7 separate regions of the Homo sapiens genome follow, and regions 1, 2, 3, 4, 5 and 7 are each linked to region 6. The links are contacts of gene promoters, found by promoter capture Hi-C in blood cells and fetal thymus (Javierre and others, 2016). All regions are on one chromosome and are shown on one strand. The core of a region is centred on a gene start or on the middle of the fragment in contact, and the rest is flanking DNA. Distances in the headings are between cores, read along the strand shown. Region 1 overlaps WASHC3 (WASH complex subunit 3). Region 2 overlaps UTP20 (UTP20 small subunit processome component). Region 3 overlaps WASHC3 (WASH complex subunit 3). Region 4 overlaps ARL1 (ARF like GTPase 1). Region 5 has its middle 23 kb from the start of ARL1. Region 6 holds the start of SYCP3 (synaptonemal complex protein 3). Region 7 overlaps UTP20 (UTP20 small subunit processome component).

Evidence for each region. The method cuts DNA at HindIII sites, captures the fragments that hold promoters and counts their contacts. A CHiCAGO score of 5 or more calls a contact.
Region 1: a contact is called between a fragment that was not itself captured here and the fragment with the promoter of SYCP3 in region 6, in 1 of 17 cell types (neutrophils). The highest score is 5.0, in neutrophils.
Region 2: a contact is called between a fragment that was not itself captured here and the fragment with the promoter of SYCP3 in region 6, in 3 of 17 cell types (total CD8 T cells, M1 macrophages and M0 macrophages). The highest score is 7.4, in total CD8 T cells.
Region 3: a contact is called between a fragment that was not itself captured here and the fragment with the promoter of SYCP3 in region 6, in 1 of 17 cell types (neutrophils). The highest score is 10.5, in neutrophils.
Region 4: a fragment that was not itself captured here is called in contact with the fragment with the promoter of SYCP3 in region 6 in 14 of 17 cell types (M1 macrophages, M0 macrophages, erythroblasts and 11 more); the score reaches 15.1 in M1 macrophages.
Region 5: a fragment that was not itself captured here is called in contact with the fragment with the promoter of SYCP3 in region 6 in 11 of 17 cell types (M1 macrophages, M0 macrophages, M2 macrophages and 8 more); the score reaches 19.6 in M1 macrophages.
Region 7: a fragment that was not itself captured here is called in contact with the fragment with the promoter of SYCP3 in region 6 in 1 of 17 cell types (monocytes); the score reaches 5.6 in monocytes.

Annotation. Positions count from the first base shown.
Region 1 is chr12:102,009,735-102,013,349 of GRCh38, forward strand. WASHC3 (WASH complex subunit 3) reads right to left here. Exons shown (of 7, transcript NM_016053.4): 7 at 3,106-3,458. The coding sequence ends at 3,374. Among named protein-coding and RNA genes, the nearest start is that of DRAM1-AS1, 47 kb to the left of the region's middle. The HindIII fragment of the contact is 1,823 bases long and covers 1,430-3,252 here.
Region 2 is chr12:101,365,851-101,369,939 of GRCh38, forward strand. It overlaps UTP20 (UTP20 small subunit processome component), which reads left to right. Exons shown (of 62, transcript NM_014503.3): 47 at 708-849; 48 at 2,010-2,126; 49 at 3,871-4,041. Among named protein-coding and RNA genes, the nearest start is that of ARL1, 40 kb to the right of the region's middle. The HindIII fragment of the contact is 1,122 bases long and covers 2,217-3,338 here.
Region 3 is chr12:102,040,334-102,043,959 of GRCh38, forward strand. The region is part of intron 4 of WASHC3 (WASH complex subunit 3); the gene reads right to left. Among named protein-coding and RNA genes, the nearest start is that of WASHC3, 20 kb to the right of the region's middle. The HindIII fragment of the contact is 3,045 bases long and covers 486-3,530 here.
Region 4 is chr12:101,394,463-101,398,535 of GRCh38, forward strand. It overlaps ARL1 (ARF like GTPase 1), which reads right to left. Exons shown (of 6, transcript NM_001177.6): 5 at 1,937-2,115; 6 at 1-1,208. The coding sequence ends at 1,178. Among named protein-coding and RNA genes, the nearest start is that of ARL1, 11 kb to the right of the region's middle. The HindIII fragment of the contact is 904 bases long and covers 1,368-2,271 here.
Region 5 is chr12:101,428,595-101,432,352 of GRCh38, forward strand. No RefSeq gene overlaps it. Among named protein-coding and RNA genes, the nearest start is that of ARL1, 23 kb to the left of the region's middle. The HindIII fragment of the contact is 5,381 bases long and covers 1-3,758 here.
Region 6 is chr12:101,737,494-101,741,034 of GRCh38, forward strand. SYCP3 (synaptonemal complex protein 3) reads right to left here and starts at 1,969. Exons shown (of 9, transcript NM_001177949.2): 1 at 1,858-1,969; 2 at 310-459. The coding sequence starts at 442. The HindIII fragment of the contact is 5,223 bases long and covers 98-3,541 here.
Region 7 is chr12:101,319,143-101,322,979 of GRCh38, forward strand. UTP20 (UTP20 small subunit processome component) reads left to right here. Exons shown (of 62, transcript NM_014503.3): 23 at 403-493; 24 at 1,710-1,795; 25 at 2,362-2,487. Among named protein-coding and RNA genes, the nearest start is that of UTP20, 41 kb to the left of the region's middle. The HindIII fragment of the contact is 888 bases long and covers 921-1,808 here.

The sequences.
Region 1 (3,615 bases), core at 1,091-3,590, 270 kb after region 6:
TTTCTTATTGTAATTAATTACTACTCTTAATAGGGGCTTTCCTTTCCTTCCAGCAGCACCTCTGCCAGCATTACCCTCTGATAGCCTACAGGATGTCTATTACCAACATGGTATCTCGCATTACACTGCCTCAGATCTTGGGATTATTTTGTAGTAAATGACTAACAACAGGCGCATGAATTGTTGGATCCACTTGTCTTACCGCATACAGCATCATCCAGAAGAAATCAATCAAATAGAACAATGAAATGGTCTATTATAGGCTCATTGTAGTCACCATCTCAGAGATGACATTCTGCAAGGTTGAAGTGCTAATCTCTAGGATGTGGTAAAAGCACTACAAAAATGGCTAGCATATGATGCCATGTCCTCAGCTGCCAGGATTCACAGATCCAGGAACCAAGAGAAAAGAAATAGGAATGATCCTTCTCCACCATTCTCAGTGACATTCTTTTGTAATTGTGCTTCCCATCCCTGCCGCCTCAGACTTTCCTGGAAGTCCCAGTTCCCAGATGGGGTAGGGGGAAGGAACTAGCACACTTCCATGGGGGAGCACAGTAAGGATTCCACTAAGCTGAATCTACTGCTGCCAATCGGTCCCTTGGGACTGCTCATGTCTGTGGGACAAAAATAGGAAGTAATATGTTAACATGAGGAGCTAGGGTTGTGATTACAAAATGAAACAGGAAGAATGTGTCTAGAACGCAGGTGGTTCACTGGGGCATGTCGTGGTGCTTCAGTGCCTGGTAAGAAACAGCAAACAGATGACTGTGATAATCATAGCCTAAACAGGGCAAAGCAATCAAAGCCCTAGAAAACTTAAAGGATGAAGGTCTGGGTCACTATGCTTGACAACCAGCCTAGACCAGCGGAATTTCTGATATAGAGCAGGAGAAATGTAAAATGGGTGGTGGAAGAAGATGATAAGTACCAGTTTTGGCCTTGCGTTCAGTCATAGTGACAGTAATTGTGGCTTGTCTCACTAATCTTCATGTGTAGATTTTAGAAAGACTGTGGCTGGCCATCACCTTGTGTTATCCCACAGACAAAAGACAAAGTAGACTTAACATGGGACTCAATCAGTTCTGAATTGACTGCATTTGGGTAGACTGCAGCAAATATCTCTTTTGCACATTCCCTCGTCCACTTCCGGTATCAGTCACAGCTACATGGATAGTTCTAGGTGAGTAAGCTTGGACTTGTCCTTTCTGCTTGTGAAATCCCACTGCAAGCCGAAGCCATGTATCTTTCTGCTTCCTGTTCCAAGTCTTTCTTCAACACTGGGGTGCTGCTTTTCCACACAGAAGCACAGCCCAGAAGTGCAGGGATAATTAATGCCCCTGGAGGCAACTCAACTAACGGGGGATGGAAATTGCTTAATTAATGTTCCCAGTTTTATTAGGTGGAAAATTTTGGGAGGCATTCTGAAAGCTTCTCAGAGGGTCTTGGAGCACTCAAACCCCAACTGGCAATCTTGATAACATACTTCTTAAATTTTTTATTATTTTTGAGAGAGTCTCACTCTATCACCCAGGCTGGAGTGCAGTGGTTCCATCTGGGCTCACTGCAATCTCCACCTCCTGGGTTCAAGTGAGTCTCCTGCCTCAGCCTCCCAGTAGCTGGGAGTACAGGTGCATGCCACCACGCCCGGCTAAATTTTGTATTTTTAGTAGACACAGGGTTTCACCATGTTGGCCAGGCTGGTCTCAAACTCCTGACCTCAAGTGATCCACCTACCTCAGCATCCCGAAGTGCTGGGATTACAGGTATGAGCTACCTCACCTGGCCGATAATAAACTTTTAAGTGGTTTTCTCCCTTTTCCTCTCCCTGTTTTTTTACTTCTGTTTTCTGGGATCACCTTGTGAATGACCTGTATACACCCAAGTCCTTTTCTCAGGCTCTACTTGCAGGTGAACTAAACTAAAATGGGCACAATTAGTTAAATGCATTTATATATTTTTCACATAAGTACTTTAGGAATTTTCTAGACTGTGTGTAAATAACTATGAATAATAATTATTTATTTGCAAGGTGAGGTGAGAACATTTTAATCCTGCACACATTTTTTTTTGTTTAGGTAATACAGGAGTTGATGGCAACGATGGTTACTCATTATGAACCACACTGAAACGACCTTCAATTCAATTTCCATCTGCTAATAAATATAGTCAAGTGCTGCATAATGTTTTGGTCAACATCCCCTAAGATTATAAAACCATATTTGACTGCACCTTTTCTACATTTAGATACACAAATACCACTGTGTTACAACTGCCTACAGTATTCAGTACAGTGACATGCTGTGCAGGTTTGTAGCCTAGAAGCAATAGGTTTGTGTAAGTACACTTGTTATGAAATCCACAATGTTTGTACAATAAAACCGCCTAATGACGCATTTCTCAGAACATATCCCTGTTGTTAATCAATGCATGACTGCATAAGAATATCTGACTTAAAAAACACATGAACTAATGGCCAAGTGGTGAAAGGCTGCATATGCTAAAAAATACTACCAAAAAGTTCCATACCCATAACATATGTGATATGTAAGTTTTAAGTTGTCAAAGAAATTTCAACCCAGTATTACTTTCTACCAGAAATGTCTTTAACAACTCATGATATGAATCCATATACTTTTCATGCTAAAATATTCACAAAAATTGAATAATTCACTTAGCCAAATTCACTGTTTTTTTTTTTTTTTTGCATTGGGTCTACTATTGATCACTAAACTCACACTGACTTCATTTAAAATTGCTCATTGCATCTCTTTTTATTTTTAAGACAGAGTTTCACTCTTGTCGCCATGGCTGGAGTGCAATGACGCAATCTCAGCTCACTGAAACCTTTACCTTCTGGGTTCAAGTGATTCTCCTGCCTCAGCTTCCCGAGTAGCTGGGATTACAGGCACCTGCCACTACGCCCAGCTAATTTTTGTCACCACGCCCAGCTACTTTTTGTATTTTTAGTAGAGATGGAGGTTTCACCATGTTGGCCAGGCTGGTCTTGAACTCCTGACCTCAGGTTATCCACTCGCCTCGGCCTCCCAAAGTGCTGGGATTACAGGCGTGAGCCACCGTGCCTGACTGTAATTGCTCATTGCATCTCTAAAATATTCTATCTTAGTATTTGTAGCACTAATTGTACTTTATTTAGGTTATCCTATTTTTCATTTTGAGGCCCTTTATTTTAGCAACAAGACATACTGGCAGGTTAAAACTGCTTTATTATTATTTTTTTAACATAGAAGAAGCTTGGTAGTGGACATGTGGCCATTTGATGTTTTTATGACTAAGAGAGTTCAGGCTCAATCTCTTACAGAATGTAAATGTACCCCTATGCATGCATATGTAATTCTTATCAAAATTAAGCTTAATCACTAAAAGAAGATTCGCTATCTGAACTTTCTTCTACAGTTTTCTCACTTTCGCCATCAGGCACTGGAGCATCTGGCCTCCTAAAAGAAAAGAAAAAAAAATTTCAAAGGTCTTTTCCAATTGAAAAGAGCACTTACAAACTCTTAAATTTGGTTCATCTTAGAATATTGCTGCTAATAAATCTGCCAAGTCCGTGTCCTCAGTCTCCTGCTCTACACCACAGCGTGCTTCTCTCGG
Region 2 (4,089 bases), core at 1,528-4,027, 370 kb before region 6:
AGATTTATTGATTCAAAGATAGGATAGATTTTAAATCTGTATCTTGTATTTTGATTAAACAGAGATTGAGACCTTAAAAGATTTTAAAATATCTTACAGGCTGGGCACAGTGGCTCATGCCTGTAATCCCAGCACTTTGGGAAGCTAAGGAGGGCAGATCACCTGAGGTCAGGAGTTCAAGACCAGCCTGGCCAACTTGGTGAAACCCCATTCTCTACTAAAAACACAAAAATTAGCCAGGCATGGTGCTGGGCACCTGTAATCCCAGCTACACAGGAGGCTGAGGCAGGAGAATCACTTGAACCCGGGAGGCGGAGGTTGGAGTGAGCCGAGATCGCGCCACTGTACTCCAGGCTGGGCAACAGAGCAAGACTGTCTCAAAAAACAAAATCTTATATATTAGTAAACTTCATTTTGGTCTTGCTTCTATGGTCTAAGAGAGACTCGTTGGCATTTATTTTCAGAAATCAAACAAGGGAGTATCCTGCTGTTGATCCTAATATAAATATGTTGTCCTAGTAACCTTAATCAACAGCCTAATAATCTCTTCTGTATCTCATGGTTTGGGGGTTTGGGGAGGGGCAAAACCCAAGCAAATGGCACATTATTTAGTGCTGGGCTCTCGTCACTTTAGAAGGGCCACTCTAACTTCTTGGAATGCAGCTGACAGTGTTCTTTACCCTCTTCTCATGCCACGTGATTGACAGAAATCCAGTAGCCCCAGCACCAGATCCACGTCTACCACCCCAGAGCTGCCTTCTGCTTCCCCCAACTCCAGTTCGAGGTGGACAGAAAGCTGTTGTGAGCAGGAAAACCAACATGCACATATTTATTGAGTCCGGGCTTCGGGTAAGAATTAACCTTAAAATGAGACTTGCTACTTTCAGGGAGTCTGCACCTTTTAGTCTTCTGTTGAATTTCTAGTACTGCTCACTTCCATTGGAAATGCCTTACTGTAAATACATTTTAGATTTTTTTTTTTTACAGGTGCATTGGTCCATTTACTATTTATCTCTTGCAGCACTTACATTGAAGATGTAACTGTCCCAGAATTAATGATTCTGCTCTAATATGTATTAAGGTCTTACTGATGCTTTGCCCATGAGTCCCTCTGAACTACTTTGAATTTTTTTAAGAGATGGTGAGTGGCCAGACATGGTGGCTCACACCCATAATCCCAGCACTTTGGGAGGCTAAGGCAGGAGGATCACTTGAGGAGAGGAGTCTGAAACCAGCCTGGGCAACATAGCAAGACTCTATCTCTACAAAAAAAAATTTTTTTTAATTAGCCAGGCATGATGGCACGTACCTGTAGTCTTAGTTACTCAGGAGGCTAAGGTGGGAGAATCACTTGAGCCCAGGAGTTTGAGGCTGCAGTGAGCTATTAACGCACCACTGCACTCCAATATGGACAATATAGTGAGACCCTGTCTCTAAAAAATAAAAATAAAAATAAAATAAAAGACGGTGAGCTTTTAAAAGCATAAATCTAATCATTTCCTTTTTAAAACCCTTCATTGACTCGCATTTTTCTAACACACGTTCCAGCCACCCTGGCTTCCCTTCCCATCTAGAAAGTCACCATACTCTTTCCTGCCCTAGGAACTCACCACCCACTCTTTGCTCTACAAAGATTCCCACAGAACTCTCAAAGCACCCTACCTGTACACATCATCATTTCCTTAGAGTCTAGCTAAGATCCATCAAGACAGAGACCATGTCCATCCTGGTTATTGCCATATCCTGCGTACTGAGCCAGTGCCTGGAATCACAGTAGATGCTGAGAAAATTGACTGGTAAACAGTGGTAGCATCTCAGCTGCACAGCGAGCTCTCACTTTGACTTACTGAGACCCTCCCAGGCAGTTTGTCATTCCTTAAAAATGTTTTATCATTTCTAATAGAAGTATCTTAACATTTCTTGCTTTTCTCTGAACATCATTTCACATTTACCTAACTCATCTGGTCTAATGGGCAACTAATGTGAAATACCTGTTTGAACTCTCTTAGCTGCTGCATCTGAGTCTGAAGACTTCCAAGATCAAGTCTTCAGGTGAATGTGTCCTGGAAATGCTGGATCCTTTTGTGTCTCTCCTCATAGACTGCCTGGGCTCCATGGATGTGAAGGTAAGCATCGGTTTGCACTCTGCATTGGAGCATTTATTTCTTCAGAAGAACTATGTTTTGCAGAATACCTAATGGTTGTATTTGGGCTCAAGCTTTATGAGATGATTGAGGTGTTTTTGTTTGGTTGGTGGGTTTTTTGGGGTTTTTGGGTTTTTTTTTTTTTGAGACAGAGTCTCACTTTGTCACCTAGGCTGGAGTGCAGTGGTGCAATCTTGACTCATTGCAACCTCCACCTCCTAGGTTCAAAGGATTCTCTTGCCTCAGTCTTGCCTCAGCCTCCCAAGTAGCAGGGACTACAGACGCACACCACCACGCCCGGCTAACTTTTGTATTTTTAGTAGACACGGGGTTTCATCTTGTTGGCCAGACTGGTCTCGAACCCCTGACCTCAGATGATCCACCCTCCTTGGCCTCCTAAAATGCTGGGATTACGGGCATGAGCCACCGTGCCCGGCCGAGATTATTGAGTTTTTAAAGAGATTTATGACATCGTGAACCACCACTATTTGCTACATTAAATCACTTCTCAATTTACTAATTCTATAAATTTGGATAGCCTTTAACAGTTCTAAAAGCCCTCCTAGGTACCTTAAGTATGTCACTGGATCCTCACAACTTCATGAGGGTGAATGATTTTGTCCCCTTACCAATCATCATCATCATCACCTTTGTCACTATTACTGCTCCATGCTATGAATCCCAAGAACATTATTTCTGATCCTCACAACCACCCCTGAGGCATATATTCTTACTATTTATGTTTTATAAATGAGAAAATTAGGGCGAGGGCCTAGGTACAGATCTAGGCTATGAACCTAGGTGCCGAGAGGTTAAGTAACATCTCTAGAGTCAAACAGGTAATCAGTTGCAGAGCTGGGATGTAAGCCAAGGTCTTTCCGACTCCCAAGCTCGCTCTTCTGTGTCTTAATCCAGCCCACTGAAGAGTTCTCAGCAGCCAGAGCAGCACGGGTGTTATTAGATGGAGCTGAACTAGCTGATCCCGGTGCTTTCAAAGGTTTGGCCTTAGAGGTTCAGGGATCTCAGCACACTTTTTCCATGTCTTTTGCCATAGCACTTAACTATATTAAATGATAGTCAATTGTTCCCGTGCCTGATTTCTGAGTTAACTGTCTGCTGCATAAATGCAGAGATGGTATCCTTTTTATCTTTGTATTTATAATACCCAGTAGAGTGCCTTGTATACCTAATTCAAGCTTAGTAAGAGTAGATTACATTAAAGTACCATTCTAGAAAACAGAAAAGTCATTTAAGATGTATTTTTCCAAAAAAATTGTAAAATTGACCAACCTATCCAAATCATATAACCTCCATAAACCCCTATAAGTAGGTTAAAAATATGGCTGGGCATGGTGGCTCAGGCCTATGACCCCAGCACTTGGGAGGCTGAGGCAGGAGGATTGCTTGAGCCCAGGAGTTCAAGACCAGCCCAAAAATGTTTAAACAAAGATTAAATTGTAAAAAGAATATGGTGCCTTTTCTTATTTCCTCATGATCTACCATCATAAGGATCCATTGTTACGGATAAGCAATAAATTCTTCTACAACCAGGAATTGTAAATGTCTTTATCTTCTTACATTTTGGGCACAGTTCTTCCAGAGTGGGCTGCGCTTAGCATCTTATTTATTCAGCACAATCATTTAAAGAGTCTGCATAGCCTCAGGTGCTGCATAGTTGGATTCGGTCACATCACAAGTTGGTGGTGTTTTGTTTTGTTTTTTTCAGGTGATCACAGGTGCTTTACAGTGCCTCATCTGGGTCTTGAGGTTCCCGCTACCTTCCATAGAAACAAAAGCAGAGCAGCTGACAAAACACCTCTTCCTTCTGCTGAAGGACTATGCAAAGCTCGGGGCCGCCAGGGGCCAGAACTTCCACCTTGTGGTCAATTGTTTCAAGGTGAGATGTCTTCACTTGCCCTTGGAAAAAGCCAGGATGGAGCTGGAT
Region 3 (3,626 bases), core at 758-3,257, 300 kb after region 6:
AAACTATCAACTGTTTACAAATTAATAATAAATTTATTGAGATAATGATGAATTGATTTCCTAGGTATCTAGAATCTACCTAATTGAGCCCTTTATTTATTAAATCATTTTATTCTAAGTGGACATGGCTCTTCTAACTTTTAGAAAGCAATTTTTGGAGAAGTTGTAAAAGAGAAGCCAGTTTGTCAGACAAAATTATCTGGTTTTATACATTTCAGATACTGATGGAACTATTAATGGTAACATTGTCTACAGAGTGGTTAAAAGTCATAATGTCATACTAAATATGACTTACAATAAAGAATACTGGGGAATGGTCTTTTTAGATAAAAATGCTATTGTTATACAGGCAGTCTTCATTTTGCATGGTACCATGTTACTGAAACTTGTGCATATGAGAACCATATCCTTGCTTAAATGCAAAACTAGATAGAACTGCCTGTATACAGTACTTGATTTTTCTATCAAACCAAACATTTAGAAAAAGCTTACTTTGGTGAATCTCTCTCATTATCTGTATATAAGCATTAAAAGAATTTCCTTAGAAGAAATCAATTTTATGTCTATTGTTCATTCTGAAATGTAGATAAATCAATATCTTTATATCTTCATAGTCTTTAGACTATGAATGTGAATTACATATTGAAGTTTTTCCTCAGATAATTCAAATATAAATTAAATCTGTCAAAAACTACAAAGCAAATAAACATCCAAAAATCCTTTAGGTTTCTTCTGTTACATGATATTGCTAAGTTTTACCAAAGTGAGTATATATATATACATATATATACACACACACACACACATATTCATCTATAATACAAATACAAAAATTCCAAAACACTGTTAATTAAATAAAAAATTAAAACAATAACCAAGTATGTTTTTTAACAATTTATGGAAATTAAACTCATATAATAGCAAAATGGTGCAAATGAACTACATCCTGGCCAGATATCAATTCTCAGTCGTTAACTTTTGCCTAATAACCAAGACCTCAACAAGGTTTAATTATGAAATGTATTACACCTTTGCTATTTGAATGACCCATTAAATCCTCTATCATATCTCTCAACTGTCCTTCATTTATTCTCAAATCAATCTCACTCTGCACAATTGGATATTCTATTGTGAATAATGATGAAATCTGAACCATGAAATTAAAGTTGCAGAAAAATCAGTACACAAACCTTGGGTCTTTGACTCATGTATAGATTAGAGAGAGTGATAAACAGATGATTTTTTTAAAAAGTGCATTATTCTCCTTTGTCTGATAAGTGAGTTGACTATAATGTCAATGAAAACTCTGGATTAAGCAATACTTAAGCCCACTTCAAAATATTTTGTATAAAATATACCAATTAATAACAATGAATAAATGAGAAGTTGATGTGAATATTAAGAACATGCTGAGCAGTTATTTTATTAAGCTAATCAACACACAATTTTATCACAGTATTTCAAACTTTGGAAGCCAACAGAACTTCATAAACCCTCTAAATAAATACATATACAATTTTTAAATAAAATTGCCAGAGATATACCAGGTTATTCTGAATTTGCAAAGCAAATTAAGAAATTCAGCTGTGATTACTGGTAATCAATTTTTGGGACATTAAATATGTGAGGACAAACACAACTGCATAAGAATTTTAAAGGGCATATTATAGATGGCATTCATAATAGCACCTGGAAAAATTAATAATCAAAGTTAGACAGGTATACTTAAAAATCTTACAGAAATATATGACAGCTCTATCTACCACATAATAACTACTAGGTAGTGTGGAAATATTTTCTTAATATTCTTTATAGACGCTTTATTTTAGAAAGAGGATAGTCATATTTAATTGAGAGAATGTAAAGTTAAACTCCTCTACAACATCTGGATATCCTCTTGCACATTTTATATATTTGAGTGGCCATAATGAAATTTGCTATATTAAATAAATGGATGTTAAATTTTATAATATCTAATTAAGTAAATGATCATCTAATTTATTACCCAAATATATACTATATTCTAAATATATGGCTCTTTCTACAGGGCCTCATACCACGCATCCTCAATATGTTTAAATAAATTGAATACAGGTACTGAAAACAGTGTAGTGTAGTGTAGTATAGTGTAGTGAAGCAGGTAAGTGCTAGGGCTCTTGGCACCAGACTGTCTGGGTTAAAATTCTAGCTCTTACGTTACTTTTCGACCTTCAGCAAGTTACTTAACCTCTATATACCTCATTTGACCCATCTATAAACTAAGATTGATAATATGGTGCTTACATTATAGGGCTGTTGTAAAGATTAAATTAGTTTATGAAAGGCACTTAGAAACGTGCATGCCTTGGTACACAGAAAGCACTCTTGAAGTGTTAGCTGTTATCATCACTGTCAACATCATCGTGATCTAAAAAATATCCTGTGAAAAGTGCCTCCAGGTACAAAGGCAGAATTCCATTTATAAATCTGTTTGTTTTATTTGTTTATTATTATTACTTTGGTAGGCCACCATTTTGATGATTACTTTGTTTTAGATTTTAATACCTCGCTGAGATACACTAGAGATTGTTCTCAAACAACAAAGAATTTTTATTTTTTGAAATAAAAAGTAATAGAAAATTTAAATTCATACAGAAGCATAAGTAAATGTTAAGATCTAAGAGCCAAATGTAAAGTATAGCTTTTACTGGGATGCTGATTCAAACGAATCATCTTCAAAAACACACTGGTATTTCTAAGATCAGTAGCTCTCAAATTTTAAGAGCCTACAGATCACCTAGGGGTCTTGTTAAAATGTAGATTCTCATCAGCAGTTTTGGGGTGGAGCCTGAGATGCTTCATTCTAACAAGCTGCCAGGTGATGCCCATGTGGTTGGTCCATGGCGTGTACTTGAGTAACAAGGGGTTAGACAATACCAGAGAATGTTTTATTTATTTATTTATTTTTTATTTTTGAGGCAGGGACTTGCGCTGTCACCTAGGCTGGAGTGCAGTAGTGTAATCTCGGTTCACTGCAACCTCTGCCTCGTGGGCTCAAGTGATCCTCCCACCTCAGCCTCCCGAGTAGTGAGACCACAGGTGCGTGCCACCACACCTGGCTAATTTTTGTATTTTTAGTGGAGATAGGGTTTTACCATGTTGCCCAGGCTGATCTCGAACTCCTGAGCTCAAGCAATCCACCTGCCTCAGCCTCCCAAAGTGTTGGGATTACAGGCCTGAGTGACTGCACCTGGCCAATTATTGTTAATTACACTGTATATGATAAAGGCATTTATATAAGCAAATGTTACAAAAGAAAATGTCAAAACTTTTCAGAGATGCTCAAAAATTTATGCAGGGTGAGATGACAAGATGTCTGGAATTAATTTCAGCAAGTGACCAAAAAAATAGATGAAGCAATTGTGAAAACTGGTGAATCCAGGTCTATTTTTGTGTATGTTTAAAAATTTTACAATAAAATATTTTAAAAGTACATTTCTTCTAAGAACCTAGAAAAATTTCTAATTATTTTGAAGAAAATAATTATTTGAAGCTTTTTCCTAGTCCTATATAGACTGATTTTCTTTTTTACAGGCAAAGAAAGTATTAACTTCAGGAAGCCCTTCAAAATAACACAGCTAATTTGT
Region 4 (4,073 bases), core at 570-3,069, 340 kb before region 6:
AAACTTACAGTCTAGCAATAAGCCTAATTTTTAAAACAGAATGCTTAATTTCTCCCTGTACAATCAGTAAGATTTTGATTTTTAACAAGTTTACATGTCCAATTACATGTAGATAAAAGGAATGAAAACCAGTAAAGACACCTTTTATAATCTGAAAATAGATTTTTAAACCTTCCTTTAATGTGAAATTTTCTCTTTAATGTGTTATGAATTCTATCAAATATAACCATTTAGGATTATTTATAGTATGTCACTGATCACTTCTACTAGTATAGACAAATAAATTTATAAACATTATTTTGAATGTAACTAATTAGCATAATTTTATTTAAGAGTTAGACTGTGTTGTCAATACTGACATTTTTGGGAATATATAGTATAGTTTATGAGTCAAGCTTCTGAACCAAAAGTTTTACTTTGAGCCCTATTCCTACCTTACAAGCTAGCAGGTGACCTTGGGCAAGCCAACCTATTAGAACCCTGGGTTCACGTCCATACAGTGAAGACATCATAACCTGTCCTACCTACTTCACAAGCTTCCTCTACCGATCAACTAGATCAATATATGTAAGATTTTTTTTGACAACTGTAAAGTACTATAAAATGACACTTACAGATAAGTCAGTGAAGTTAACCATCAAAACAATATTCATGCCTATAACCAAAAGCTTTTAAACAAAACAGCTTAATAAAAAGTGGTCAGGTAAGCAAATAAAGATTATATTACACAAACTATGTTCCTCACCTACTCTCATACTGAGTCTAATCTTTGGAAAGATAATTCATTTTAAGGGGAAAAAAATCTGTTAAGATATTTTTTAGTATTTATACAAACAAGCTGCAACTACTATTCAAAAATAGGTTTTTTTCATCCAATAGGAGTATACTCTTTAATAGAACTGTATTTGAATAAGAATTCCATACAAATAGAATATATACCTTAACACAAGAAAGCAAGAAAAGAATATTTTACATTACATAGAACATTCAGGTGATTCGATCAAATTATCCCTCCAACTAAATACTTATTTTCCCTATTTACTACAAATATTGCAGTCAGTCAGTATATGCCAATAATCATATAGTTTTAACATCTAGTAGTGTGAAGTACACTTGACTGTTTCCAAAGGGAGAGAGGTGATGTAGTCTTCATTTCAGGGGAGAAGAATGGACTGAATTACTGTCTGCTTTTTAATGTTTCAACTAACCTGTAAAGAGAAAATGAACTGTTTTATAAAATTAATTTTCAGGTATAAAGCATGATCATCTATAATAAACTTTGTATTGGAGGTGGATTCCAAAGTACTTAAAATGATGACAGCTAACACAGATGAGGTTATGCACTAGATATCCATAAGGTTCCTCTAAGCTTTGAATTTGTCTATGATTTGAATGAAAAATTCAAAAAAGACCAAATACCTATTTTCCAGGCTACTACTACTTCTGGGCTACATATGGATGACTCAGAGGTGAAACTAGTCTCAATCCTCAAGGAGGTGATTATCTAATGAGTAGATGAACAAATCAAACTTACAAGACAGCAAAACAAGTACTATGTCACTAATCTGTGACAAGGGCATCTAACTTTAAGTGAGTGATTAGGCAGTAGGAATAGAGATACATTAGGAAAAGCTCTTCAGAAGAGAGTCTTAAGCTAATTCCTGAAGGATAAGGAATTGGAGGGTGAGGTGAGGCAGGGAAAAGGCTAAAAATTGGCAAAGAATTTGCTTATCTAAGTAACTGTAATCAGGTAGGTGTGGTTGAGAAGACAGATGCACCTGAAGACCAGTGAGAGAAAACGCTTGAGGAACTTATGAAATAAGCTGCTAAGTAAATCAAAGTTTCATCCTCAACACGGGAGAAAAATTACACGTGGACGTGCATAGCTGCAAGCACACACAAATGCACAGATGGCTTCTGGAAGCATGATACTTGCCATTCCATTGCCTCATCAAGGCCGGTGCCTTTGGTTGCTGACGTTTTGAATATCTGCCATTTTCGGTCCTTCAAGGCAGGTAACCCAAGTGAATTTGCCATCTCTGAGGAAGTCATGGCCTGTTCCATGTCCTGTTTATTTGCAAACACCACTAAAATGGCTTTTCTCAGCTCTTCTTCCTAAATGAAATTGAAAATATTTAATTTCTTTTAACTAATGTGCTCTCTCGAGTTTAGAAAATGTCCAAAAATACATTTTAAACGTGTATTTTATAATTAATATATTACACATTATGAAATTATATAGAAATTATATAGAGAAGTATAAAGAAAAGAAGCTTCACTCATAATCCTACCTCCCAAATATGATCACTGTTAACATTTTAGGTGTTTTCTACTAGTACTTTGTTTTGCAGATACTTCAGAGTTTATTTAGTAAATACATTTACACATTTAAGATCACATTTATATATAGTTCCATACCCTGCCTAAAAATTAAAATCATGTTTCTCCAAACTACAACAACTTTTTCAAAATAAAAAAATGGCTAAATATGCTCTACACTATGGATGCATGCACCATAAACTGTGTTAACTATTTTCTAGTATCTGACTCTTATTAGAGTCTTTCCACTAGACTATTAGATAAACCCAAGTGACAGGGTCTTTATACAAAAATTTCTGTTTAAATCTGTTTCCTTAACACAATATTCTAAAAATGGAGTCAAAGTATGAACAGTTTTTTTCAGGCTTTGATAAACTGAATACATGCATGAACAGCTTTCCAGAAAGGTTACCCTACCAACAGTGTATAAAAGTCTCCATCTTCAATGCAGCCTTTGTAGAGTTGGGAATTATTTACTTTTCCAAACATAGCATCTCATTATATATTACTAGGGTATTCGAAATGCACATGGGCTGAGGCAGGAGGATCGCTTAAGTCCAGGAGTTGGAGACCAGCCTGAGCAACACAGGGGTCTCTACAAAAATTTTTTTAAAAAACAAACAAAAAAGGAAGCAGAGAGAGGAGCTCAAGGTTATAACAAGCTTTGGTTGTGCCACTGCACTCCAGCCTAGGGGACAGAGGGAGACCCTGTCTCTTTTTTTTTTTTCTTTTTTTAAGACAGTGTCTCGCTCTGTTGCTCAGGCTGAAGTTGCAGTCGTGCAATCTTGGCTCACTGCAGCCTCTGCATCCTGGGTTCAAGTGATTCTCCTGCCTCAGCCTCCTGAGTAGCTGGGACTACAGGTGCCCGCTGCCACGCCCAGCTAATTTTTGTATTTTTAGTAGAGATGAGGTTTCACCATGTTGGTCACTCAGACTGGTCTCGAACTCCTGACCTCATGATCCACCCGCCTCGGCCTCCCAAAGTGCTGGGATTACAGGCATAAGCCACCGCGCCCTGCTGACCCTGTCTCTTTAAAAACAAATGCAAATGTTATTAGCAATGTTTTTCCCCTACGAATTGCCTTTTGCTCATTTTGCAAAAGATCTTGCTATGATTCAGATCACTAATCCTTAGTCATTGGCTTCTGGTTAGGCCTGGTTTCTTATCTTAATCTTGTTTATATTTGCCATATCTGAGCTTTGGGGGAGTTTTGTTTACATTAATATAATTAAATCTCATCTTTTGAATTCCTTATATGTTCTTATAATTTTCATTTTTTACATTTAATTATTTACCCATTTAGAATTCATTTTTGTGTATAGGAAAGTTGAAAGGCCAGGCACGGTGGCTCACATCTGTAATCCCAGCACTTTGGGAGGCTGAGGTGGGTGGATCACCAGGTCAGGAGTTCAAGACCAGCCTGACCAACATGGTGAAACCCCGTCTCTACTAAAATTACAAAAATTAGCCGGGTGTGGTGGTGTGCGCTTGCAATCCCAGCTACTCAGGAGGCTGAGGCAGGAGAATTGCTTGAACCTGGCAGGTGGAGGCTGCAGTGAGCCGAGATTGCACCACTGCACTCCAGCCTGGGCAACAATAGTGAAACTCCGTCTCAAAAAAAAAAAAAAAGTTGAAACCTAAACTGCTTTTGTGTCTATACTATATATTTTTTGTTTGTTTGTTTTGAGATGGAGTCTCACTCCATCACTCAGGTTGGAGTGCAGTGGCACTATCTCAGCTCACTGCAACCTCC
Region 5 (3,758 bases), core at 452-2,951, 310 kb before region 6:
TATTCTTCTCTGTATCTCCAGTGCTACCACACTGGAGTTCAATAAATGTTTGTTGAATTCATGAAGGATGAGGCTTGAATTTCTTAACTTAGCATTCAGATACTTCCATAATCAGATCCAACTGACTACCTCTCTCCAGTTCAGTCAAACATTGTGGAATCGGGGGGAAACTCACTGTTTCCAGGACTCTGTAGATTTTGCTTCTATAGTGAGGTTTGCCATTACCATTGGGAAAGCCATCCAGCCACTCTGTGGTTCAGATTCCTCTGCAAAATGAAGGATTGGTCAAGAGTGAAACTCCTCAGACTTTAATGTCTACATACAAAGCACCTGGCCGGGCGAGGTGGCTCAAGCCTGTAATCCCAGCACTTTGGGAGGCTGAGGCAGGTAGATCACGAGGTCAGGAGAACGAGACCATCCTGGCTAACAGAGTGAAACCCCGTCTCTACTAAAAATACAAAAATTAGCTGGGCGTGGTGGCGGGCGCCTGTAGTCCCAACTACTCGGGAGGCTGAGGCAGGAGAATGGCGTGAACCTGGAGGTGGAGCTTGCAGTGAGCCGAGATGGTGCCACTGCACTCCAGCCTGGGTGACAGAGCGAGACTGCATCTCTAAAAAAACAAAACAAAAAAACAAACAAAAAAAGCACCAAAGACCTTGAACATGCACAATCAGACTGTGATTCTGCATTTCTACAAGCTCCCAGGGGATGCTAATGCATGAATATTTGTACCTTTTTCTACCTTTCAAAGATCATGTTGAAATTTAATCCCCAGTGTGGCAGTATTGAGAAGTGGGGCCTTTAAGAGGTGACTGGGCCATGAGGGCTCTGCTTTCATGACGAATTAATCCATTTCTGGATTCACGGATTCATGAATTAATGGATTATTATGAGAGTAGGACTGGTGGCTTTCTAAGAAAAGGGAGACACCTGAGCTAGCATACTCAGTCCCCTTACCATGAGACATCCTGCACAGCCTTGGGAGTCTGCAGAGAGTCCTCACCAGCAAGAAGGCTCTCACCAGATATGGTCCCTTGACCTTGGACTTCTCGGCCTCCATAACTATAAGGAATAAATTCCTTTTCTTATAAATTACCCACTTTCAGTTATTCTGTTTTAAGCAACAGAAAACAGACTAAGACAACTATTGAAGTAATTACGAAGTTCTATGTTCTCTGGTCTATTTATTGTCTTTTTCATGACTGATGCTATAAAGTTCTGTATATTGCTTCTCTTTCCTGAGATGCTTTCTCTATTCATTTCCCTCCATATAAATCCAACTCACCTTTTCAAGCTCTTTCTCCTGGGCAAAGCCTTCCATTACTACTCTAGTTCCCCAATTCCCCCCATCTTTATTATATTATAGTATCCATTGCTGGCACTTGGAATGTTACACTAATCACCTACAACTATTAATTGTTGCTTATCATTATGTACACAAGTAACCAGTTATATATATTTTTTTCTTTCCTAGGAGGCTTACCACAGTGGCTCAGGTATAGTAAGTTGCAAGTTTTGTTGAATAAATGAATGAATGAATGAATAATTTACTATAGCATTGGTGCTCCAGAGAGATATCAAATGTTTCAGTATTTTATAAAATTGTTTTCCAGAACATAGAGGAAACTGCCAATTTGGAATTTCCCCAGCCTATTCAAATGAGGCAGTCCAAGCTAAGCAATAATTTGATCCATTCAAAAGTTAACGATATTAAAAATAAATGTTGATATTAAATTTCAAATTTCTCTTTAGCTTCTGAAACACTGGCATTTGCTACTGCTGTTTTTGTCTCACTTTTCAAAGCCAAATACACACAATATATTATGCATGAGAAATTAGCATCATATTGCATAAAAGATTTGTCCATAGAGTATGATTTGTTATTATATCATGATTTCAACAGCTTGGTCAAACAATCTGCTTTATACTAAATATCATGCTGCATACCAAATAATGAAGTGGACTTTCTGCCTGTTGAAAGACAAAGAATCTTTATTATTGATATAGAGAAGTTGTTTTAATCTTAAAGTTAAAATAAGGAAGTTCTTTGAATATTGCTTAACTCACAACTGTGGGAAAAAACGTAGAAGCATTTCAGAACCTACCATCCTACTTTGCATTTCTATTGAACAGCTGCGTTTTAACCACCTTGCAATATTTGTTGTATAAAATACACTTTAACCCTAATATAAATTTATAATTTTTGACAAGAGTAAGTAACTATATTACATATTACCAAATTTTTGATCAGATAAATATTTTGGTTGTAAGTCATTATAATTGAAATTTACTGTAAAATCTCTTGGTAAACTTGTAAAGTATTAGCTCCACAAATGTAAAGCATTATAATCATTACTATGCAAAACATATAATATTTCTGAAAATGCTGGAAAATATAAGCTAAATGAGTACACCTAATAAAGTAATGTATCACTTGAATAGGAGCTATAAAGTATAATGAATCTTATTCTTAACAGATTTTAGTCATTTAAGTTTGTTTTCTTTAAAGAATTTCTATTCTTAATTTAGTTTACATACCTCTGATGGAAACTTCTCTTCACAAAGTAAAGTGAAGATTCTCAGAAGACAGACATTAATATTCACTTTTAACTATCTTTTCATTTATGTAGTTCTCTAGCTTCTGATAAAATATTTATGGAAGGAGGTCATCTTTAGTTCTGGTTTTGCAAAGCTCTCTGTCATCTGTAATCTCAGTTCTTCAGAATAGAGCAACACAGAATACAGAATTCATAGAGACCAGAAGGGCTGACTCAGGCCTGGCATTTTTATAGAATGCTTAGAGCCAGAAGAACCTCGGAGATCATCTGTTCCAGTCTCCTTGTTTTACAACTGGGGATGCTGTGGCCTTGAGGTCACCCTGCTCATTAACTTGAACTCTTCTCTTCTTCAGTCCGTAGTTCTTTCCATCTTGTGAATTGAGACATGGGAAAACTAAGAATACTAAGAGCATCAGAAAACACAGGTAGGTGAAGGAGGTAACAAAGTCTCTTCCAGACGGCCGTGAAGCCCTGCCATTTGCAGCTTGCATCTCCACACCTGGGTCAACTCTCAATGGCTGCCATCCTTGAGAGGCTTAAACCTCAACCAGTGACTGGCAATTACTAGACTGTTGATTAGACAAATGGAATATCTCTAAATGGGTTTTATTATCTGTATCTGTCACAAGATAGCCACACTTTTCAAAAAGGAAAACAAATGTTTACTTTATCCCACAGATTCTTATCGTGTGTGCACTGAATGTTCATTACATGTACTTCCTTCTAACATTTATCAAGCGCTTACTGTGGGCCAGTCAGTATGCTGTTTGCTTCAACCGCATTGCATAGTCCCCCCGTGTCTGCAGGGGATACGTTCCATGACTCCAGTGGGTGCCTGGAACTGCAGATAGTATCCTGAACCCTATATATACTGTTTTATCCTATATCTACAAACCTATGATAAAGTTAAACTTATAAATTAGGCACAGAAATAAATTAACAACAATAACTAATAATAAAATAAAACAGCAATTATAACAATACACTGTAATAAAAGTTATGTGAATGTAATCTCTCTGTCTCAAAATGTCTTACTGTACTGTATTCACCTATTTTCCTCAACCAGGGTTGACCGTGGGTAACTGAAATCAAGGAAAGCAAAACCACAGATAAGGGGCAACTATTGTACTTCATTAAATCTTTATAGCTGGCCGGGCGCGGTGGCTTAAACCTGTAATCCCAGCACTTTGGGTGGCCAAG
Region 6 (3,541 bases), core at 719-3,218:
ATAATTTTTCAAGTCTCCCTGGGTTAATGTCACAGTAAGCCACATACTATATATCAGATATTTTGGAAATAACTGCAAAAGCAAGAGTTGCCGAATAAGCTTCTGTAACTCCGATACTGCAATATAAGGATCAAATGAGAAACACAAGTACAGCTGGCCATCCGTGTCAGCAGGTTCTGTAACCACAAATACCGGGGGAGGGAAGACCATACCTGAAAATGCTTTACAAACTAAGTTGTACGATAGTCTCAATGGGTTCAAAACAAATGAACTGAAGGACATCACTGCCCAACATGAGATGTACTGCACCTTCAATAACATCTTCCTCTGATCCACTCAGATCTTTCTTATCTTCAGTCTCAAAGTCATAGGCTCTCGTAAACTGATCTTCCACAGACGGCTTCCCAGATTTCCTGGAATACTTTTTTCCGGAGGACACCATATTTAGATGCTTCCTGACTTTAAAAAACAAATTTCTTTAACCTTCTGAATGCAAAGACATCATTTTAATACACTGGTAAAAGTTTAAATATCAAAGGAGATATCGAACAAGGATTGTTGAATACAATTTTAACAGTTTCCTCATTTATTTGGGGGGCCAAAAGTTAAGAAGATAATGACATTTGTTAAAAAATAATAAAATAAATAGGCCAAGCACGGTAGCTCACGCCTGAAATCCCAGCACTTTGGAAGGTTGAGGCAGGCAGATCACCTGAGGTCAGGAGTTCAAGACCAGCCTGGCCAACATGATGAAACCCCGTCTCTACTGAAAAAAAAAAACAAAATTAACCGGGCGTGGTGGCACGTGCCTGTAGTCCCAGCTGCTCAGGAGGCTGAGGCAGGAGAATCGCTTGAACCCGGGAGACAGAGGTCACAGTGAGCCAAGATCGCAGCCACTGCACTCCAGCCTGGGTGACAAGAGTGAAACTTCGTCTCAAAAAAAAAAAACAACAACAGAAATGGCCGGGCGCTGTGGCTCATGCCTGTAATCCCATCACTTTGGGAGGCCGAGGTGGGTGGATCACCTGAGGTCAGGAGTTTGAGACCAGCCTGGCCAACATGGTGAAACCCCGTCTCTACTAAAAATACAAAATTAGCCGGGCGCGGTGGCGGGTGCCTATGATCTCAGTTACTCAGGAGGCTGAGGCAGAAGAATCGCTTCAACCCGGGAGGCGGAGGTTGCAGTGAGCTGAGATGGCCCCACTGCACTCCAGCCTGGGCGACAGAGTGAGACTTCGTCTCAATCAATCAATCGATGAGAGAGAATGACAGTGTCCACCCCGACTCCAAGCGCGCAGTGCTGGAGAGGTGGCCCCTGAGGCCTGGGAGTTCCAAATTTTGGGGCCGCCTCTGCCAGATTCTGGCTAAATCTGGGCAACTCTAGCAGGGCGCTCAGTCACGCGGGGAAATTATAGTTGCTGGCGGGACACGACATGAGGATGCCAGAAATAAGCTCATAATAATCAAGACAAATAATAAAAACGTCCCGCAATTTAGGTCTCGGAAAATGAACACAGGCAGAAGATTTCGACAACAAATACATCGAGGAACCACGAAAGGCGCCCTCGGCGTGGAGCGGGCAGGAGGGAGACGCGCGGAGCGAGGTAGGGCCCTGCCCGGCCCCGCCGCGTCCCTCCTGTAAGTGGTCCCAGGGTGTAGCGATGGGGCCCAGCCCCAGCCCAGCCCGCCCGCTTTCCACTAGGCCCTATCCTGCTCAAGGCCCTGTCCTCAGGTTCGCGGCCTCCGTTTTCTCGTCAGAGGCCCCAGGCGACGCCAGGAGGTAAGATTTACCTCACTGGTCAAGGGCAGCCTCTGGCCTGGACACCTGCGATAGACAGACGCCTCCCCTGCTCACACCTGAAACACACCGCAATGGCCGAGGACCAGTTACTGGTCGTCGACAGGCGTCCTCCACAACTCCTCCACAAGCGCGCTTCACCTGAGGTGGCCCCTTCTCCGCGACGCTTCTGAGGCAAGCTGGGATTCGCACAGGAGAAAAGCCAGTCCCGCCTCATCCGGACACGTCGCTGATTGGCTGGACGCAGAGCGCAGGCGTGAACTGGGTGGCGAGGCTCCGCCCCCATGGGGCGATTGCGCGCCCAAATAGCTGGCCCAGGGTGCTTTGGCCGCCGGAGCGGGTTGCGAGTACACTTGAGGCCTGGTGCCTTCCAGTTTTTAAGTTTTAAATGTTTATAATCGAAAATTGCAGCTAGGCGCAGTGGCTCACACCTGTAATCCCAGCACTTTGGGAGGCCGAGGCAGACGGATCACTTGAGGTCAGGAGTTCCAGACCAGCCTGTCCAACATGGCGAAACCCATCTCTACTAAAAATACAAAAATTAGCCGGACGTGGTGGCGGGCGCCTGTAATCCCAGCTACTTGGGAAGCTGAGGCAGGAGAATCGCTTGAACCCGGGAGGCAGAGGTTGCAGTGAGCAAGACCATGCCATTGTACTCCAGCCTGGGCAACAGAGTGAGACTCCATGTCAAGAAAAAAAAAAAGAAAATTGCGGAATAATATGTAAATTATGAAACATGATGAACATACCACCTAATTTATGAAGTAGGGCTTTACCAACATTCACTGAATCTCCTCAGGCAGGCCTTTCCATCCGATCCTCACCAGGACCCCACCCTTCCCCATTCAGGGATATAAGAAAATTATCCTAAATTTATGTAAATCATTCACCCTTCCTTATTTTCTAAGTTTTATTACCACATGAAAATGTGTCGTTAAACAACACGGCTTAGTTTCGTTCGCGTTTGGCATTACAAAAAATTGTCCCATAGTCTATGTAGTGTTCTGACAGTCCACTAGAATGGCAAAACTACAAAATATGACTACACGGAGTGATGATGAATCTATGTAACAAAGGGAACCCATTCAGTGGGTGGGAGTATAATTGTAAAACAATTATTTGGTGTAACTGGAAATCACCTATCAATTGCAAAACAATTTTTGAAGATACAATTTATGAAGGAAATGAAACTCACCTATAATCCCACTACCCAGAAATAATATACAGTTTAAAATTGGGGGTATTATTGCCTTTCATCCTTTTTTCTGTGCTTATATGTATTTTCCCCCAAATAATTTTAAAATATATTTCAACCTTTGTACCTGCCTTAGTTTGCTCACAGCTCTGCAATCCTTTTTCTATTTGAAATCATACATTTTACTTTTTTTTTTTTTTTTTTTTTGAGACAGGGTTTTGCTCTCTTGCCAAGGCTGAAGTGCAGTGGCATGGCATGATCACGGCTCACTGCAGCCTTGATTTCCTGGGCCCAAATGATCCCCCTGTCTCTGCCTCCTGCGTAGCTGGGACTCATGCACGTGCCACCATGCCTGGCTAATTAAGAAAAAAAAAAAAAAAAAGTTTGCCGAGATGGGGTCTCACTATGTTGCCCAGGCTGTTCTCAAACTCCTAGGCTCAAATGATCCTCTCACCTCGGCCTTCCAAAGTGCTGGGATTACAGGCATGAGCCAACTTGCCTGGCCTATATTTTACTTCTTTAATATTTGGCAAAGGCTTCAGGATCTT
Region 7 (3,837 bases), core at 115-2,614, 420 kb before region 6:
TATTTACATTATAATAAAGTGAGGGAGAATATATTCTACTACTTTCCTGTCTGCCACATAGAACCTAGACAAGGAATAATTCCAAAAATCATCTGAGTTTAATTTTGGAATATTTTACTAGTTTGGTTACTTTCTAATTTTTGTTCAATTTAAACCATTCTGAGCACACACTGAATGATTTTTTGGTGTGGAGAACCTGAATTTTAGGGACAGGCCTGCCCAAAATATGGGATTTCTGGAGAATAATTTCCTAAATGTAAATAACTAAGCCTTGTTTATATAATAGTGAAACTATAGGCGGGGTGTTTGAAGTTCTAGTCAGAATAAAATTGTAGATGTCAGTTTAAGAAAATGATCTCAATTCTTTAATTCTGTAACACTCTCTGTTTTGTTTTTGTTTAGGCAATTAATTGCTCATTTGCAAGTTTTCTCTAAATTTTCAAATCCACGGGCCTTATATCTGGAATCCAAACTATATGAGTTATATCTTCAGGTCAGTAAAATAAACTCTTGGCATTATAATTCTTTGTGAACTTTTCTCTATCATTTTCTTTGTCAGAGTAGCTTAGATTTTCAATAATTGCTGAATAGGGCCCATGTCTACATTTTAAGTATTAAAGCCTTTTTTTTTTTAATTAATAGACATATTTTCTGTTATCTTGAGAAACAGTTTTAGCACTAACTTAGCTGATTTTGAAGGCATTTTGGGTGACTAAACATTGATTGGCTGTGTCAACAGTGAGAATAGCAAAGCATGAATTATATCATGGAAATTAGCTTTTAGAAGGGAGTAGGGTTTATACAAAAAAACAAGTGACTACTTTTCCCTTCTAGTTTAGTCAGACTTCATAGAGGACTGGGATTTCAGGATCTATTGTAGTCCATTGCAGTCATAATTACGTGGCCCTGAATTTCAGATAAGCTTGCAGAAAAAAATTAATATCAGAAATGAAGTAAGCATTGGATGTAATTCTAAGCCATCTGGGGAAACAAAATTTTCATTTTTCATTTGGATGTTTCTTCTGGCATCTTATTGACTATCATTACCTTCATAGGATAAGAGATTTTCCTTAGTACATGACCAGCCTAGTTGGCTTAAATCCAGATTCACATAGAGAATCGGCCTCACCAGGCTGCACACAGTAGCTCACGCCTGTAATCCTAGCACTTTGGGAGGCCAAGGCGGACAGATCACCTGAGCTCAGGAGTTCGAGACCAGCCTGGGTAACATGGTGAAACTGCGTCTCTACCAAAAACAAAAAAATTAGCCAAGTGTGGTGGTGGGTGCCTGTGGTTCCAGCTTCTCGGGAGGCTGAGGCAGGAGAATCGTTTGAACCCAGGAGGCAGAGGTTGCAGTGAGTCGAGATCGTATCACTGCACTCCAGCCTGGAAAACAGAGCAAGACTCTGTTTGAAAAAAAAAAGAGAAAGAGAGAGAGGATTGGCCTCACCCAAAAGCTGGTAGACCCCAGGGTATGACTGTGGGATGCAGGTGTCAGAGAGTTTTGTTTCCATTTTTACTTTGCATATATTCTGTTCATCTTTTTTTACTTCCAGGAAAATGTGAAGCTGTTGTTAGCAATCAGGTTTAGGTCTTGTGTAAAAATTTAGAATTTTTCAAATCTCATTTAGCAAATAACCACAAGTAAATTGCTATCCTATGGTATATGTATATATGACTTCATTAATTCTGTAAAATACTGTTCTTAGTTGTTGCTACACCAAGATCAAATGGTGCAAAAAATAACCTTGGATTGCATAATGACATATAAACATCCTCATGTCCTCCCTTACAGGTAAGTTACTTGAAGCTTAAAGAACTGTTATTTCTTCAGCTGATTTTTATATTTCTGCCTAAGAGCCTCTTCTAGAATAATTTATTAAAGGCCTAGAAAGTTTCCCTTTTTTCTGAGGTCATCGTATTTCCAAGCAAGAAATGAAAACGAGTAGTATATTTGTTGGGTTGTTCTCCATGATACTAAAATAGAGAATGTTAATTTTAAAACTGTGTTGTAAATATTATGTCATTTTCCTCTTCTTATTAATATAATGCCATAGAATCTTGGTGGTTACTTAGAGAATCAAAGTCACTCTAAGAACTGAGGAAAGCTTTTTGTATCATGCTTTTTTAAACAGCTGAGTTATGGACAGAATCTAATCTTTTCTAATCCGTTATACCTTTTGAAATGTACAAATCTGTCATTTTAGGAGATTTTTTTGAGGATTTTCCTTTATGGATATCAACCATAATATGTACTATATACCTTATTTTAGTTATTACTCTGTGTACATATTTCACTCTTTCATTATTCAAAAGCACTGTTGATAAAGTGGTGATTTGTGCTGTTCTCTGTTTTTAAAGGGAAAACTTACAAAGGTTGCTTGAAGACAGAAGCTTTAAGGAAGAGATAGTGCATTTTAGCATTTCAGAAGATAATGCTGTAGTGAAAACAGCCCACCGAGCAGATCTATTTCCTATTCTGATGAGGTATTTATGCTGTTCAAACACTGATTTTTAAAAAGTTAATAACAAACACAATTGTGAGTACAGTATTATGGTTCTTTCAACAACTGTAATAGAATATTTCATTTTCTATTTTCTTTTGATTGCATTTTCTTTGGAGATGGGGTCTTGCTCTGTCACCCAGGCTGGAGTGCAGTGGCATGATCACAGCTCATTGCAGCCTAGACCTCCCAGGCTCAAGTGATGCTCCCACCTTGGCCTCCCAACGTGCTAAGATTACAAATGTGAGCCATCACCGCCAGCTGCTTTTTTTTTGAATTGTACCTTTGGGAGAAGCCAAATTGGTATAGAGACTAAATTTTGTTCCTAACATAAAGAAAGATCTTTATTTATTTTTTTTTTAGAGGGAGTCTCGCTCTGTCACCCAGGCTGGAGTGCAGTGGTGTGATCTCAGCTCACTGCAACCTCCGCCCTCCCAGGTTCAAGCTATTCTTGTGCCTCAGCCTCCTGAGTAGCTGGGATCACAAGCGTGCGCCACCATGCCTGGCTAATTTTTGTATTTTTAGTAGAGAAAGAGTTTCACCATGTTGGCCAGGCTGGTCTTGAACTCCTGACCTCAGGCGATCCACCCGCCTCTGCCTCCCAAAGTGCTGGGATTACAGGCGTGAGCCACTGCGCCTGGGCCCTAATATAAAGAAGATCTTACCATAGTATTATTGTGACAATAATATAATTAAATTTAATATTTTCCTAAATTTTACTGTTGAGATACAGTAGAAATATTTCACTCTGTTTTCCAAATATCATGTGATATTTAATGATGTTATTATTCCTTTAATTATAAATGGTAGAGCAAAAAGATGATCCATAAATAATACAAAGTTTATATATGCTGGGTATAAAGAAAAATGAAGCTTAAATCTTTCATCTCACCAGCTCTGGAATGATGAGAATTGGAAAGATCATGGGATTGGGATTTAACAGGTTTGCTTTTGGTCCAGCCCCCTACTGTGTAGTTCTATCAGATAGAGAAAGTCTTTTAGATCCACTGGGCTTCTGTTTCCTTAATAGGAGCTGGTTCAGATATGCTCAGGGACTCTGCTAGCACTTATCTAATGGCTCTGTTTAGTTCCATTTGTAGCCAGCATTAAGATTCCATTTATAGCAAGCTTTAAGAACTTTACTATAATAGACATAAAAATATTTGAGGGAGTGAATAAGTGAATATACAAAATTACAGTTATTGGTGGATTACAGAAACAATAAAAATAGAAAGCAGAAATCATCTTATATCCAAACACTCAAAAATAACTATCAACTTTATAATCTCAAAAACAATAGTAAATAGGAAACATCCGCAATACTTGTATATTT